Regions from separate parts of the Homo sapiens genome. Here region 2 is linked to region 1. The links are contacts of gene promoters, found by promoter capture Hi-C in blood cells and fetal thymus (Javierre and others, 2016). All regions are on one chromosome and are shown on one strand. Each heading gives the region's core, a stretch centred on a gene start or on the middle of the fragment in contact. The rest is flanking DNA. Distances are from core to core; before and after follow the strand shown.

The links. Contacts are between HindIII fragments. The CHiCAGO score rates a contact against its expected background, and 5 or more counts as called.
Region 2: a fragment that was not itself captured here is called in contact with the fragment with the promoter of NPEPL1 in region 1 in 1 of 17 cell types (endothelial precursors); the score reaches 6.8 in endothelial precursors.

The regions. Positions count from the first base shown.
Region 1 is chr20:58,688,831-58,695,723 of GRCh38, reverse strand. It overlaps NPEPL1 (aminopeptidase like 1), which reads right to left and starts at 2,924. Exons shown (of 12, transcript NM_024663.4): 1 at 2,674-2,924; 2 at 1,802-1,987; 3 at 1,132-1,302. The coding sequence starts at 2,823. It overlaps STX16-NPEPL1 (STX16-NPEPL1 readthrough (NMD candidate)), which reads right to left. Exons shown (of 23, transcript NR_037945.1): 9 at 4,497-4,690; 10 at 4,162-4,319; 11 at 3,944-4,000; 12 at 1,802-1,987; 13 at 1,132-1,302. RefSeq lists enhancers at 738-1,345, 2,786-3,491 and silencers at 2,409-2,498, 2,519-2,598, 2,629-2,788, 2,799-3,288. The HindIII fragment of the contact is 11,943 bases long and covers 1,053-6,893 here.
Region 2 is chr20:58,474,944-58,481,836 of GRCh38, reverse strand. All of the region lies in intron 1 of APCDD1L (APC down-regulated 1 like), which reads left to right. Among named protein-coding and RNA genes, the nearest start is that of APCDD1L-DT, 37 kb to the left of the region's middle. The HindIII fragment of the contact is 2,981 bases long and covers 2,144-5,124 here.

The sequences.
Region 1 (6,893 bases), core at 1,675-4,174:
GAAGATGGAAGAATTTGGGTTGAGGGGCAGTGGTTACAGGCCTCAGAGAGCACACAGTGAAAGAAATGAGGTGTGGCCCAAGTGCTGATGTGGGAGAGCTTGCCTGGGTGAAGGCGACAGCCTTCCAGAGCCAGAAGTGAAGAATGAGCGCTGACACATGAGAAAAGACAACCTGGGTGGCGCTGTGGGCTCGGGGACTGGAGGTGGCAGGCGCAGAGGCTGGGACCGCTGCCGTGGGGACAGGAGCCTGATGTCAGGCCCATCCAAGGATCTGGAGCTGGGAAATCACTTCCGGCCTTGCAGCCTCAAAAGGATCATTCTCAGCATTGAGTGAAATAACACATGTAGAAGTGCTCCCTGTAAAGGGTGCAGCAACACACATGCACACACACCACACACACACCACTCATGCACACACTAGCACTCATACACACACAGCAACACACACAACACACACACACACCACTCATGCACACACCAGCACTCATACACACAGCAACACATGCTGCTCATGCACACACCAGTACTCACACACAACAACACACACCACACATGCACACACCACACATGCACACCACACACACACACCACTCATGCACACACCAGCAAACACACACACACAGCAACACATACCACACGTACACCACACACACCACTCATGCACACACCAGCAAACATACACAGCAACACATACCACACACACACACACATCACACATGCACACACACACCCCCCACACATACAACACATGCACATACACTCATACACGCACAGCAACACACATGTGCACGCACATACACACACACGTGCATACATCACACACGTGCACACGGAGCTCACATAAACGGGCAGGGTTATTTGGAAAACAGCATGGACGTTCCTGGCACTGATTACGTGCTCAACAAACACTGCCTGTATACAACAGAATCCTGAAGTCACAGACCACGCTGAGGCAGAGGCAGGGGGCCTGGGTTTGGAAAAGCCTCTGCCGCTTCCCAGGAACCAAAGCTCCTGGGAAGGGCAGGAACCCCCTCCTGCCCCCGCAACAAGCTTTTCCCTCTCCCGACCTCCCTCCCACCTGCCCGATCTTGCCCGGGCCCAGGGGCAGTGTCTGCCCTTCCAGACACCCACCTGCAATGTGGACACCTCCACCGGCCCGTTGTCTTGTCCCACCAGGAAAAACTCCACGGTGACCGTCTTCTTCTCCAAGCGCCGAGAGGCACCTGAGCGGTGGGTGAACAGCGGGAAGGCCCGGGCCAGGGCACAGGCGGAAGCAAAGACCTCCGGCTGCTCGCAGACCATCTGTGGCACATAGGGAGACGGCGTGAGGGGTGCAAGGGCCGCCACCAGGGAGTGCAGGGAGCTGCTCTTTGAACGCCTCCGGAACATCAGCTCCCTGGCAGGTGACATCTAGACAGAGATGTCCCACAGCAGCCGCCACCCCATCCCTCAGGTCATCCCCGGAACCATGGGACCACCATTGGTCATGCTCCAAGAGAAATAACACATTGGCCACCAGATGTCAACAGCCTGACCAGCCATGAAAATGAGGGACAGAGGGACAGACACAAAGTGGGCCTCAGGAAATCTAGGTTTGAGTCTCTGATTTGCCACCAAAACTGATCTGGGGCAAATCCCCGCGTCTCTCTGGACCTGTTTCCCTGTCTACAGAGCAGGGATGATAACGTCCACAGCCCTCTGGGCGTGCGCTGCAGTCTGAGCAGGGCTGTGAGCTCCCCAGGCCCGAGCTCACCGCTGCCCGACTAGGAGCACCGTGGCTGCCTCCTCTCGAAGCACTCACCACAATGCAGCGATGCGCTCCGGGCGGCAGGCAGGTCCGCACCAGCCGCGTGATGAAGTGGGCGGCCGAGGGGCTGTTGTGCCGGCTCACCCTGCAGGGCAGGGCAGCCACGGTGGCGTAGTTCAGGTAGAGGGGACAGCTGTCCGTGGGGTTGGGGTTGAGCGTGCTCAGGGCAGCCTGCCAGAGCTAGATCAGAAGGGAGAGACAAGACACAGAGGCTTCAAACAGCGGCCACGTGCCAGGAGGCCCTGCCCTGCAGCCACGGCCACAACCACTCCTGCAGTCCTGGAAGGGCACTGCGCAGCTCCCGGCCACCGTTTTCCCATCCTTAGGGAGATGTGTCGCCTCTCTGCAGAGCTAACTGTCTCTAGGCTGGCTCGCATCCCCCTGGTGGGATGAAGCCACCAAGCCTGGAAGGGCCAGGCTGGGGGCTGCTTTGCTTCCAACACTCGGATAGGGCTTAGGCGGCTTCCACCAGAGAGGGGGCAGGGGCCAGGTGTCCCCAAGGAAAGGCAGCTGGGGACACTGCCATGGGAACTTCTGGAAGCCAGGGCCTGTCGCCAGGCGGGGCCGACGCGCGGCCCTGGGAGCGGCCACGTCTCCCCCCCCGCCGTCCGCAGGTGTCGCGGCCTCGCGGGGCGCAGGGCTGGGCTGACAGGAGGACCACCGCGCCGCACCGGCGACGGGGCCTGGGGCTGGGCCTCCGCGGGCGAGGACTGGCCTGGCGGCTGAGCCCTTCAGGGAGGCGGCCCGGCCTCGTTGGGCCCGGCCCGGCGGCGGCGGGGGTGCGGCGGGCGAGGCGGGGCCTCCGCGGGCCGCCCGGGCCTGGGCTTCCGCGGCGCGGGTCGCATGGCGGCCGGCGGCCCGCTCACCTCCTCGGTGACCCGGGGCTGCAGCTTCCCGCGGACGTGGCTCCAGGGCACGCGGTGCAGGTGGTGCAGCTGCCCGAGCAGCAGCAGGGGCCGGCTCTGTGGGTCCGAGTCCCCCGCGCTCGCCTGGAACTGCAGCCCCACGTTCGCCATCTTCCTGCCGGCCCACGCCCCGGCCCTGCCCGGCCCGGCCCGGCCCGCCGCTCGGCCCCCTTCGCCCCGCTCCGGCCCGGCCTCGGCACCGCCCCGGCCCTGCCCGGCAGCCCGCGGGCCCCGCCTCCCCCGCCGCTCCGGGCTGCTCGCGAGACGTGCAGGGCCCGCCCGGGGCGCGAGGGGGCGCCGGCCAGGCCGGGCGGAAGGGTGCGGGCAGGCCCGGCCGGGCAGGCCCGAAGCCGGCCCCGAGCAGGCCCTGCCGAGTAGGGCCCGCGCGCCCGGCCTCCAGCGGCGCCGCCCCTGGGCCTAGCGGCCCTGCCCAACACGCGGGGCGACGTGGCCCGCCAGGCAGCGCCTCCCGGACGGGCCTGGCCTCCAGTGGGGCCTGGGCCGACGTAGGCCCAAGCCCACCCGACGCAGTTCCGCCCGGTCAGGCCTCAGGCTGGCCCCAAGCAGGTCCCCCGAGGTCCCTTAGCAGCTGCTTTTGATCCCCAGGGACCCCGCACCCTGGCCACCCATCAGTTAGGCCGGAGGGGCCCAGTGACTCTTGGACCTGAGTCAGGTCCTTTTGTCCCACTGCCTGGCATGGTGGGTACAGCGTGGACGGTCACTTCCTCCTCACTTAATCGGAGGTTCCCTGGCGTTTATCAGACCCCGCTCTGCCAGGCACTGCCCTGGATGTGAGAGGGTGACAGGGACGTGGCTTTCCATCCAGGGCACTGCTGCTGGGATGGCCAGTTACAAATCCAGGCACTGCCTGGCTGCATGGGGGGCCTTCCCGCCCACCCCTTTGCAAGAAGGGTCATCTGGCACAGTCTAAGCAGGAAAGGAGGGACGAGATGAGACGAGGAAGGAGCAGGGTGACCTGAGTCACCTCAGTCGCCTTACAGGGGAGGAAAGGCCATCGGGGGTGTGGGGCAGGAGCCGGGTGGTGGAGGAGCCAGGGGTGAGCCTTGAGTGGATGGTGGAGGCGGAGGGTCCCACCCACAGGGTCAGATGCAAGGGTCAGGGAATGACGATGCATTGGGGAAGCTCCACCCAGGAGTCATTTAAAAGCAAAAATCTGTTACCCAACATCCTGATTGCTCAAGGGCCTTTGGTTGGTACCCTCCTCTGTTACCTCCATGTAGTTCCATAAGCCACTCCTGTTATTTTGAGTTTCTTCTTCATAACCAGCCTAAAAATGAAAAAAAAAAAAAAAAAAAAAGAAAAGAAAAAAAGAAAAAAAAGCACTGTCAACTCCCTGGCGTGGTGTGAGAGGTTTTCCACCACTGACCTCCCAGCTGGCCCCCTAGCTCCCTAACTTGTAGCCCCGGGAGCCACAAGCCAGGCTTTCACCTTCCCTGTCCACAGGCTCCAGGTCTGTCTGCTCAGCTCTGAGCCATGGTCCCTGGCCCCTTGGAAACACCACAGACTAGAGCTTCAGCATCCTGAAGGCAGGTCTTTTTGACTTTTTGTTGTTTTTTTTTCCTCCAGTTCCTGGCACAGAGCAGGCACTCAAAAAAAAAAAAAAAAAAAAAAAAAAAAAAAAAAAAAGCTGTTGAATGACTGAAAGGCATTCCTTTGAAACCCTCAGCTTTCCCGACATAAAAGTCAACGCTAATTGGATCTTATTTTCTTCAAAAGATTTTACAGCAGCTGAATGTTTTCACACATTGGTAAAGGGTACTAACAGTGTGTATGAAGATCTCTCACTCTTTTTTCTGTTTGCAAATACGTTGCAGACAGGCACACGGCACTCCAGAGGACTGAGACAGCTGGAGGATCTTCCTAGAGGGTGAGAGACTAAGGCCATGCCCTGACAGATGTAATAGGACTTCCACAGGCGAAGAGATTGAGAAAGAAGGCCTTCCACGTGGGAGAAGTCCTGGGAGGAAACACAGACGCAGAATATGTCCAGCAGGCTCTGAAACCTGTGTGGTTAGAACAGAAGGTTCCTGGAAAATAGGAGTGGGTGAGGAGATCGACTGGGGAGCCTGGCTCACTCTATAGAATTTTGCAAACTGAAGAGGGATCCAAGAAGCATTTCAGAAAGCCAGATCTAGCAGGTTTGTGTACAAGGAGTTGGAAATGAGATAAACTGTTGGTGGAGAGGTCATTTTGGAGATGTTTTTCTTTTAGAATTCTTTCATATTTAAGAATAGACTGAATAACCCTGACAGTCCCCAGAAAGGATGAACAAAATGATTCAATTCAACCAACATTTGTTGAGCACTTAGTGTACACAAAGCAAGAGAAAACGTTAGATGCTTGTTAAAAGCAAATATTGGTGATTCTGGTTTTAAGCCACCCCCGAATTGAAGAAATCCAAACTAAACAGAACGCTAAGGAATTATTCCACTTCAAATGCCTGCCAATTTCCTCAAGATTCAGCTTGTGACAGATACAAATACATTCCAGGAAAGTACTTTCCCTTTTTCACTGCTGACTTTACAGACTTTAACATAAATAAGACAGGCAGCACTTTGTTTAGATAAATTTTTATGAAGGTATTAATCCATGGCTTACTATATATTTCACTGTCAATGAAAAATTCAACTCTATTTAATTTTCCTTAAAAAATGAAAGTTTAAAACAAATTACCAGATCTTTAATGCAACCCAAAAATCAACTTATGTTTTTGATGGCTTGAAACCTATTCCACATTCAATTGGATGTTCAGACTTTGCTCCAAAGTTGAAGAAAAGATTAAAAACTTCTGGGACAAATCAGAATAAAGCTCCTAGAACTTACTAGGATGTTTTTTGGTACAGTTCACATTCTAGGACACATTTCTGAAATCCTATCTTGTAAGATGGCTCTAGGTGTTTGAAATCTACATTTATATGTTAATTTCATGTCAGACTTCACCCCTATAAAACCTAATGCCTGCTTAGACTCAGCTGATTGCCACGAGGCTCTCAGATTCCATTATATCCGATACTTCAAAGAAACATTTCCTCGGTGCATCTGCTTCGTATTTTCTAGCATTTTCATTCATTCATTCATTTGACATACATTTGTTGAACATCAGTTCTGAAAAGCTACAGGACCCGTGAGGCTTTGGGGACGCAATAGCGTGTGTGTGTGTGTGTGTGTTTGTGCATGTGCACGCATATGTGTGTGTGGCCAGGAGGAGGAAGGGGAAGCAAGTAGAACAGTAAAATCCAGAGATCCAGTCACTGGGAGAAGATTGAGTTAGGGAAGGCCCCTTGGACTACGATGAGACTTTTGAGTTGGGCCTGGAGGGATCGGTTAAAGTGTGTCAGGCAGTCTGATCCCTGACCAAGGAATTGTTCATGCAAAGGCCTGAAGTAGTAAAGGACATGGTTCATTCTGGCACTGTCAAAAGCTCATGTGGAACCAGGCCCCGTGGCTCAGGCCTGTAATCCCAACACTTTGGGAGGCTGAGGCAGGTGGATCACTTGAGGCCAGGAGTTTGAGACCAGCCTGGCCAACATGGTGAAAACCCATCTCTACTAAAACTACAAAAATAAGCTGGGCATGGTGGTGCATGCCTGTAATCCCAGCTACTCGGGAGGCTGAGGCATGAGAATCACTTGAACCTGGGAAGCGGAAGTTGCAGTGAGCCGAGATCACGCCACTGCACTCCAATCTGCAGGACAGAGACTCTGTCTCTACAAAAAAAAAAGAAAGAAAAAGAAAAGCTCCTGTGCCAGATATAAAGTGCGCATAAAATATATACTGACCTTGCAGGTTGTACTTGACCTTGCAAGTAACTGGAGACCAGTGGAAGTGCCTCAGGCAGGCCTGAAGTGGAAGCAAGGAAGGGCTCCTTCCTGCTTCAGAATGACCTGCTCGTGAGCCCAGAGGAAGCAGAGGCAGGCTCAGCTCCAAGGACCTCCCTGAGCAGCTGGCTGAGAAGTGAGCCCACAACCAGTGAAAACTGTGACAGCTGCACGACCGCCTTGAATGCTGCCCTGCGTTGTGGATGTTTGTGCTGTCCCTTGCTGCAACCTGAGTGCCTGCACAGCAGGGAGGGCCTCCGTTGCCTTTTGCAACTGGCACCAGACATGCCACCTAGATTTGCACTAAATGTTCCCTGAAGGGAGGAAAGAGAACTCGTTGCC
Region 2 (6,893 bases), core at 2,385-4,884, 210 kb after region 1:
AAAGTTTGGGCACCAGAGCTGGCCTTGGTGGGCTCCTTCTTCCGCAAGGACTGGGTGGAACGAGGGAGGCTGGGTGACCCTCAGCTGGAGGCCGAAGCTGGAGCCGGCGGGGTGAGGGTTCGCCACTGGCTCCCAATCGCCCCAACCAAAGCTCAAGAGGGCCCCCTTGTGGAAGCTCCCAAGAACAGCTCGGTGAGTGGTGTGCCTCCCCCGACGCTGGGGTTCCTCCCAGTCACCCCCGACATCTTTGGGCAGGTCTCAGATCCAAGGGTACTCAATGGAAACCACCATCCTCCATCCCTCTCTCCTCAAAACCTAAATATTTCTGCGGCCCGACAAGATTCTTGGCCCCTCTGGGGAAGATCTGGTGGAGAACCAGTTGCCAAGGCCATGAAGAGTTCAGCCGCTCAAGGGGGCATCCCAGGAGTCCCTCTCAGGCACCCTTTCTGGGTTCTGAGGGGTCTTCGCCATGATGTATACGAACACCTTCGTTCTTATTGAATGTGTCAAAACCTTGTGATTATCTTGCCGAAGTCCTGTTCTATAGAACAATAAAAGCTTCAGCCTTCTGCCAAGAGAGCTAATAAAAGTTCAGTCCAACGGGAGACTCCCAGATACACATTCTGTTTGGAAAACACTGACTCCTAACTACACCGCTTAGGGCAGGCAACAGGACATTCAGTGAGATCTGGGCACATTCAGAACCCCTTCTACGCAGTGATGCTACAAGCTGTCATCATCCCCTCACCGGCTCCTCCAAGCACCAGGTGGGATGTTGGCATCAGTGGACAGCATTGGCCAAGTTTGGTATAAATAATGTCTACAGACCAACGTGCAAGCTGGGAACGCAGGTGCTAAAGTCAAGTTAACGAGGCCTTGTCTCCAAAACACCGGAACATCTGGGTGAAAAGGGAAACGCTTCCATCTGTCACCCTGCTTCCTTGGCTCTTTGGAAGCAGCTGGCCTGTGGCTGGGATGTTCCAGTTTCCAACTGGGTGGGAGCTCCAGCCAGAGCAAGAATAATTAGCATTATCATGAGGCCAAGGGAGAGTTTTCATGTGCACAGTTTTCGTTCTGGAACATTCCTAAACAAACAAACAGAAAAACCTAGCTTATGAGCCAGGCTTGGTGGGCCAGAACTCGTCTCCCCAGGCCCCCATTCCTTTCCCATTCTGTGAACTGTGCACTTCCTTTCCCTCAGCAGGAGTGGCTAAGCAGAGGCCTCGGGGAGTTATCCTCAGTGGCCAGCCGCTTCCTCATACGCAGCGTTTTCCATTGTGGCTTAAGCACATGTCACACAAACATGAAGCAGTCACCTTCTCCAGGTGGTACCAAGCAAGGCCCACCTTTGTCCTCCATCCCGTGGTCCAGACTGACCTGAGACTTTTCATGGAGAACTGGGGGGCCAGTAGCTAACCAAACCCTGTCCCTTTGATCACCTGTCAACCCGCAGCTTCTTAATCCAAAGGCCCTTCTGCTTCTCACATCCTCAGACCTGCTCTGCCAGGTACCCCTTGACTGACTTTCTCGGGCAGCCTTCAACTCTCTGAGTGCACTGAGCAGAGGAGGGCACATTCCACAGGGCTGGGATGCTGAAGGCTGCGGCGGGTGGAGGGTGCTTTGTTTAGAGCATATAATTTCTGTGTTTCCCAAGGTAGCAAAGTCCAACCCATTCCCCAACTTGCCTGCCAGCCCTGAACACGAAGATTCTCGGATTAGGTGGATGAGGAGATTCCATTATAGCCAAATGAGAGACATGTGAGGTATCTGAGGACCAGCCATTCACACCAGAGGTTGGAGGTGGGCTTCTTAGAATGCAAAGTGTGTCTTCATATTTCTGTGTTTGTTGATGCAGCATCCAGTCATAGCATCCAATCTGCAGCCTTCTGGGGGTGTTCTGGTGCAAACCCTGCATGCCTTTTGTGCAGTGACTTCATTGGAAAGTACATCTTTGGCTGCAGCAGTGCTGGAATGGCTCCATTTCCACAGCCGGTCTCTGAAGCTTAATGGCCACGCAGCCAGGGCCACCATCGCAGCCAGCATATCTCCTCCATTTGTAAAAGGCAGCCTCCTCTAATCAAGAGAGGTTATTTTTTGGGTAGGGAGCCATTGCTGAAATTTTTATTTAAAATATGTGTAAGCTTCCTCCAAGTCCAAACTTTCTAGGTGAATTACCTCAAGCTGACGGTTTTGAAATAAACTAGAGGGTTTCAGATATTTTAAGAAAAAAAAAAAAAAAAAAAGCAAATCTTAATCCAAACCTCAGTATATAAAACAGAGCAACAGATAGGGACTGTTTGGGCTAAAGCTGGGTCAAAGACTACATCCTACCCACTGGGTTGCCCTATCTGTTTCAAAAATAACCCCAGGGTCTTCAGAAGCCAACTTGAAAACCTCTGATACAGCAAAATGTGACATGCATGCTCCATCCTTGAGCTAGAGCTCTGCTGTCTAATCTGGCCATGTAGTCACAGGGCACCTGAAATGTGACCTGTCTAAATTGAGTTGTGCTGTAAGTATAAAATATACACCAAGTTCTGAAGACTTGGTATGGGGGGGAAAAGCACATAAAATATCTCATTAATCGTTGTATTTGTTACATGTTGAAATATATAGTACTTGGAGCCGGATAAAATATATCATTAAAATTGATTTTACCTGTCTCTTTTTAGCTTTTTTAACATGGCTACTAGAAAACATGCACCAGTAAAATCACATGCAGGGCTGACATTTATGGCTTGCATTATGTGACTGTGGAGCTAGTGGAGGCTTCCTTGGGGGTGCAGGACCATGTCAGGATCCTGGTTTCACTAGGGCAGGTTCCAAGGGTGAAAAGAGGCTTTAAAGCAAAGCACCTGGCATTCGCTTCTTAGGCCAGATCCAACCCATCTAAGCCTGTGACATGATCTGATGCTCACACACCAATCTCCCTTCACCTACTTCTCTTTCCTCTCTACCTGCTTGGATCAGCCTGGGCCCCCAGCCTGCTGGGAACTCCCTGACTGATCACCCTTTTGCCCTCAGCCAGATTCTTGGCAATCCCAACAGCTGTAAACCTTGTCTTTCTCCTCTCCTGCTTCAAGCCTGACTGTAATGGCCACATCCTGAGGGGTGGGAGAAGGGTCAACAAGGAAGTCACACACGTGCTGCTATGGACCACAAGCCATTCATTCATTCAGCGAAAAGTAGTCATTATAAATAGCATTTACTGAGCACTTAGTCTATGAAGGCATTGTCCTAAGCACTTTCCATGACTTAACACAACAAATATGTATTGGGCATCCCTGAGGCACTGTGCCAGGTGCTAGAGAATCAGCAGTGAGCAAGAGAGATGAGGACCCAGCCCTCATGAGGCTGGCAGACTCGTGGAGTCACAGGCAGAGGAAGGGAGAAATGAGGGAAGGGAAGGGAAGGGGAAAAGGGAAGGAAGGAGGGAGGAAGAAAGGACAGAGGGAAGGAAGGAAGGAAGGAAGGAGAAAAGAAAAAGTTAAGAAGCCTAAAGTGACAGCCCACTAGCAGTGAGCACACCTAGCACCCAGATCTTGGTTTCTAAACACCATTTTCCAATAAAAGGAATCAGAGCTCCTTGGAGAAATGGCCAGTTTCAGGGATGGGACTGAAAAAAATACAAAATGATCCTGGAAGATCTTCTGGCACCAGGAAATGAGGAAGTACTCCCCCTAAAATGACAAAGACATACAGGAAGGACACAGGAGATTAACTGGAGGAGCTCCCAATGGCCAAATCAGGGACAATTTGAGCAACAAAATAAATAATGATAGTAATGTGTTATAACCGATAAAGTAAAATAAATATTCAGGAGTTCATAGTAATATAAATAATTGAATAAAAAGATAAATGGGAGAGAAGGGACAGTACATCTTTACAGCACAATTACTGTTAATCAACTCAGAAAGAGCTGGGCATAGTGGCTCATGCCTGAAATCCCAGCACTTTGGGAGGCTGAGACAGGCAGATCTCTTGAGCTCAGGAGTTCAAGACCAGCCTGGGCAACATAGTGAGACCCCATCTCTAAAAACAAAAATAAACTCAGAAAGAGTGATGGAACTAGAGAATGACCATTTGGAAAACACCACCAATAATAATTGTAGGCAAGAATCATTGACAGTTATCAATAGATGCTAAAATTAGTGAGGGAATGTATAATGAAGTACAAGATATTTCTGTTATCTCTGAGTATATCCCCATAAGGTAATCATTAATCACAGAGAGAAAAGTAGTAATTTAATAGTGGAGAAACATGGTAGATGCCTCCTTAAGCAAGTGATCACAGTCAAGATCACCAGGAATGGCATGATTGCCATGGTGTGCCTCCTGAGATGATGCACTGGGAAAGATACACCATCGCTTCCACAACATTCTTACCAGAAACGCATGAGCAGAATTTACTCACGAGGAAACATCAGACCATCCCAAACTAAGGACACTACAAAATAAGAGCCACTACTCTTCAAAAGTGTCAAAGTCGTAGAAGACAAAAAGAGAAGATATGTCTCAGATTGAAGGAGACATGACAGCTCAATACAATGCAGGATCCTGGACTGGATGCTGGACCAGAAAGGGGACATTAATGGGACAATGGATGAAACTTGAATTAGGTCTGTAGACTCGTTAAGAACACTGTATTGATGTTAACGTCCTGGTTCTGATCATTGCACAATGTCTGCGTAAGATGTTAACCTGTAGAGAAACTGGACAAAGCATACACTAGAACTCTTTCTACCACTTTTGCAACATTTTTGTAAGTCTGAAATTATTTCAGAATGAAAAGTCAAAAAAGTAAACCGAAGTAAGAAAGCAGATAATAAATGCCAGATGTGATGAGTGCTGCACAGGAGAGAAGAGAATGGAGTGAACAGAAGAGGGGTGCCTGGAAAGGATGCACTGCCAGGAAATGCCATTTATGCCGAGATCTCCGCGAAGATGGAGAGCCCAGCACAGAGCAGAGGATGGAACAGCACAGGCAATAGCCTCAAGGCAGCCAAAGGTTTGCCCTTTCAGCACTAGGGACTCACAGTGGAAAAGCACGGTGGGATGGGGTGGATGATCTGGTGGTAAAAAGGCACCCAGTTTCAAAGGGCTTCGAGGCTACACAAGAAAGCTTGGATATTGAACCAAGTGCACTGGGAAATCATTGAAGTTGTTGGCCATTGTTTAAATTTCCATCAAGACACTTGGGATGGTTTGAAGTTCTACTCTGATGTGAGTCTATTTGATTAATGTCAGTCTCTCCAGGAGAACAGGAATTCTGACCATCATGTGCAGCCATATAGACCCAGAGTCCATTTCATTTCCAGGCATACAACAGGCATTCAATAAGTATTTGGGGCAGGGCGCAGTGGCTCACGCCTGTAATCCCAGAACTTTGGGAAGCCAAGGTGGGTGGATCACGAGGTCAGGAGATCAAGATCATCCTGGCTAACATGGTGAAACCCTGTCTCTACTAAAAATACAAAAATTAGCAGGGCATGGTGGCATGCGCCTGTAGTCCCAGCTACTCAGGAGGCTGAGGCAGGAGAATTGCTTGAACCTGGGAGGCAGAGGTTGTAGTGAGCCGAGATTGCACCACTGCACTCCAGCCTGGGCGACAGAGCAAGACTCCGTCTCAAAATAAATAAATAAATAAAAATAAGTGTTTGTGTTGGGGAGAAGAAATGAATGAATGAATGATAGTTGGGTCACCTGGGGGACCTCAATTTTGGATGGCCCTTGTTATCTGCTGTGGGTTGAATGTAACCCCCCAAAAAAGATATGTTCGAGTCCTAACCCCCAGTACCTGGGAATAGGACCTTATTTGGATATAGGGTCTTTGCAGATGTAATCAAGTTAGGATGAAGTCACACTGGATTAGGATTAGGGTGGGCTCTAATCCAGGGATTGGTGCCTTTATAAAAGAAAGGAGAGGGAGATTTGGACACAGGTGCAGACAGAGGAAACACACAAGTAGGGATGAAGGCCATGGGAAGATGGGGGTAGAGACCAGCGTGATGCAGCCCCAAGCCAAGGGACACCTGGAGCCACCAGGTGCTGGGAGAGGCCCTACCCACACCTTGATTTCAAACTTCAGACTTGCAGACTCCAGACTGGGAAAGGATCGACTCCTGTTGCTTCAGCCACTCAGCGTGTGGTCTTTGTCGTGGCAGCCCTGAGATGCCCAGATGCTCTCCTTTCGCGTGCCTCAGGTGAGGTGACGAGTTCACCTTGAGCTGCTCCTCCCTCCGTCTTCCGTGCACCACCCTCAGGCCATTTACCACACCCACGAGTCCCTTGTACATCTCCTTATAAAATATGATTTTATTAAAATATTAAAAGAAAATAATTAAAATACCAAATATTTTAATATCAAGTTCAGATCAATCACCTTTTAAAACTCAGTCCTCAGAAAAACGGGCCATGCAAGTACAAGGCTGTTATGATAACTACCGCCACTTTTAACACCCTCTAAAACCGACGCGTGACTGTTGGAATACGAAGTGCTCGCTTCGCGCCTGAAATCACCTCGCACCCCACCCTGTGTTCGTTCGTGCCTTGCTTCGAGAACCTCAGAACAAGCAGATTACAGGAGAAAAAAGTACTTTTCTTTTGCTTTTTACCCCCAGAAGAAAGGTACCTGAAAAGCTGATATTTCTCCCTCTGCTCTGACTACAAAACTCACATCTTTTCTCCACCCTCTTCTCTCTTTGATCCATACCTGCGTTTTTCATGATCTTTGAAGAAAACATAAATTGTGGCCCCAGGAGTGAAGCCTCTCTAGGCCTCCACTGTTCATCTGCAAACTGGAATAACCACACCCATCTAGGAGAATTGCTGGGGAAGGGAGGTAAGAGAAGGGCACAGAGTGTGGGATTCCATCTTTATGAAATATCCAGAAT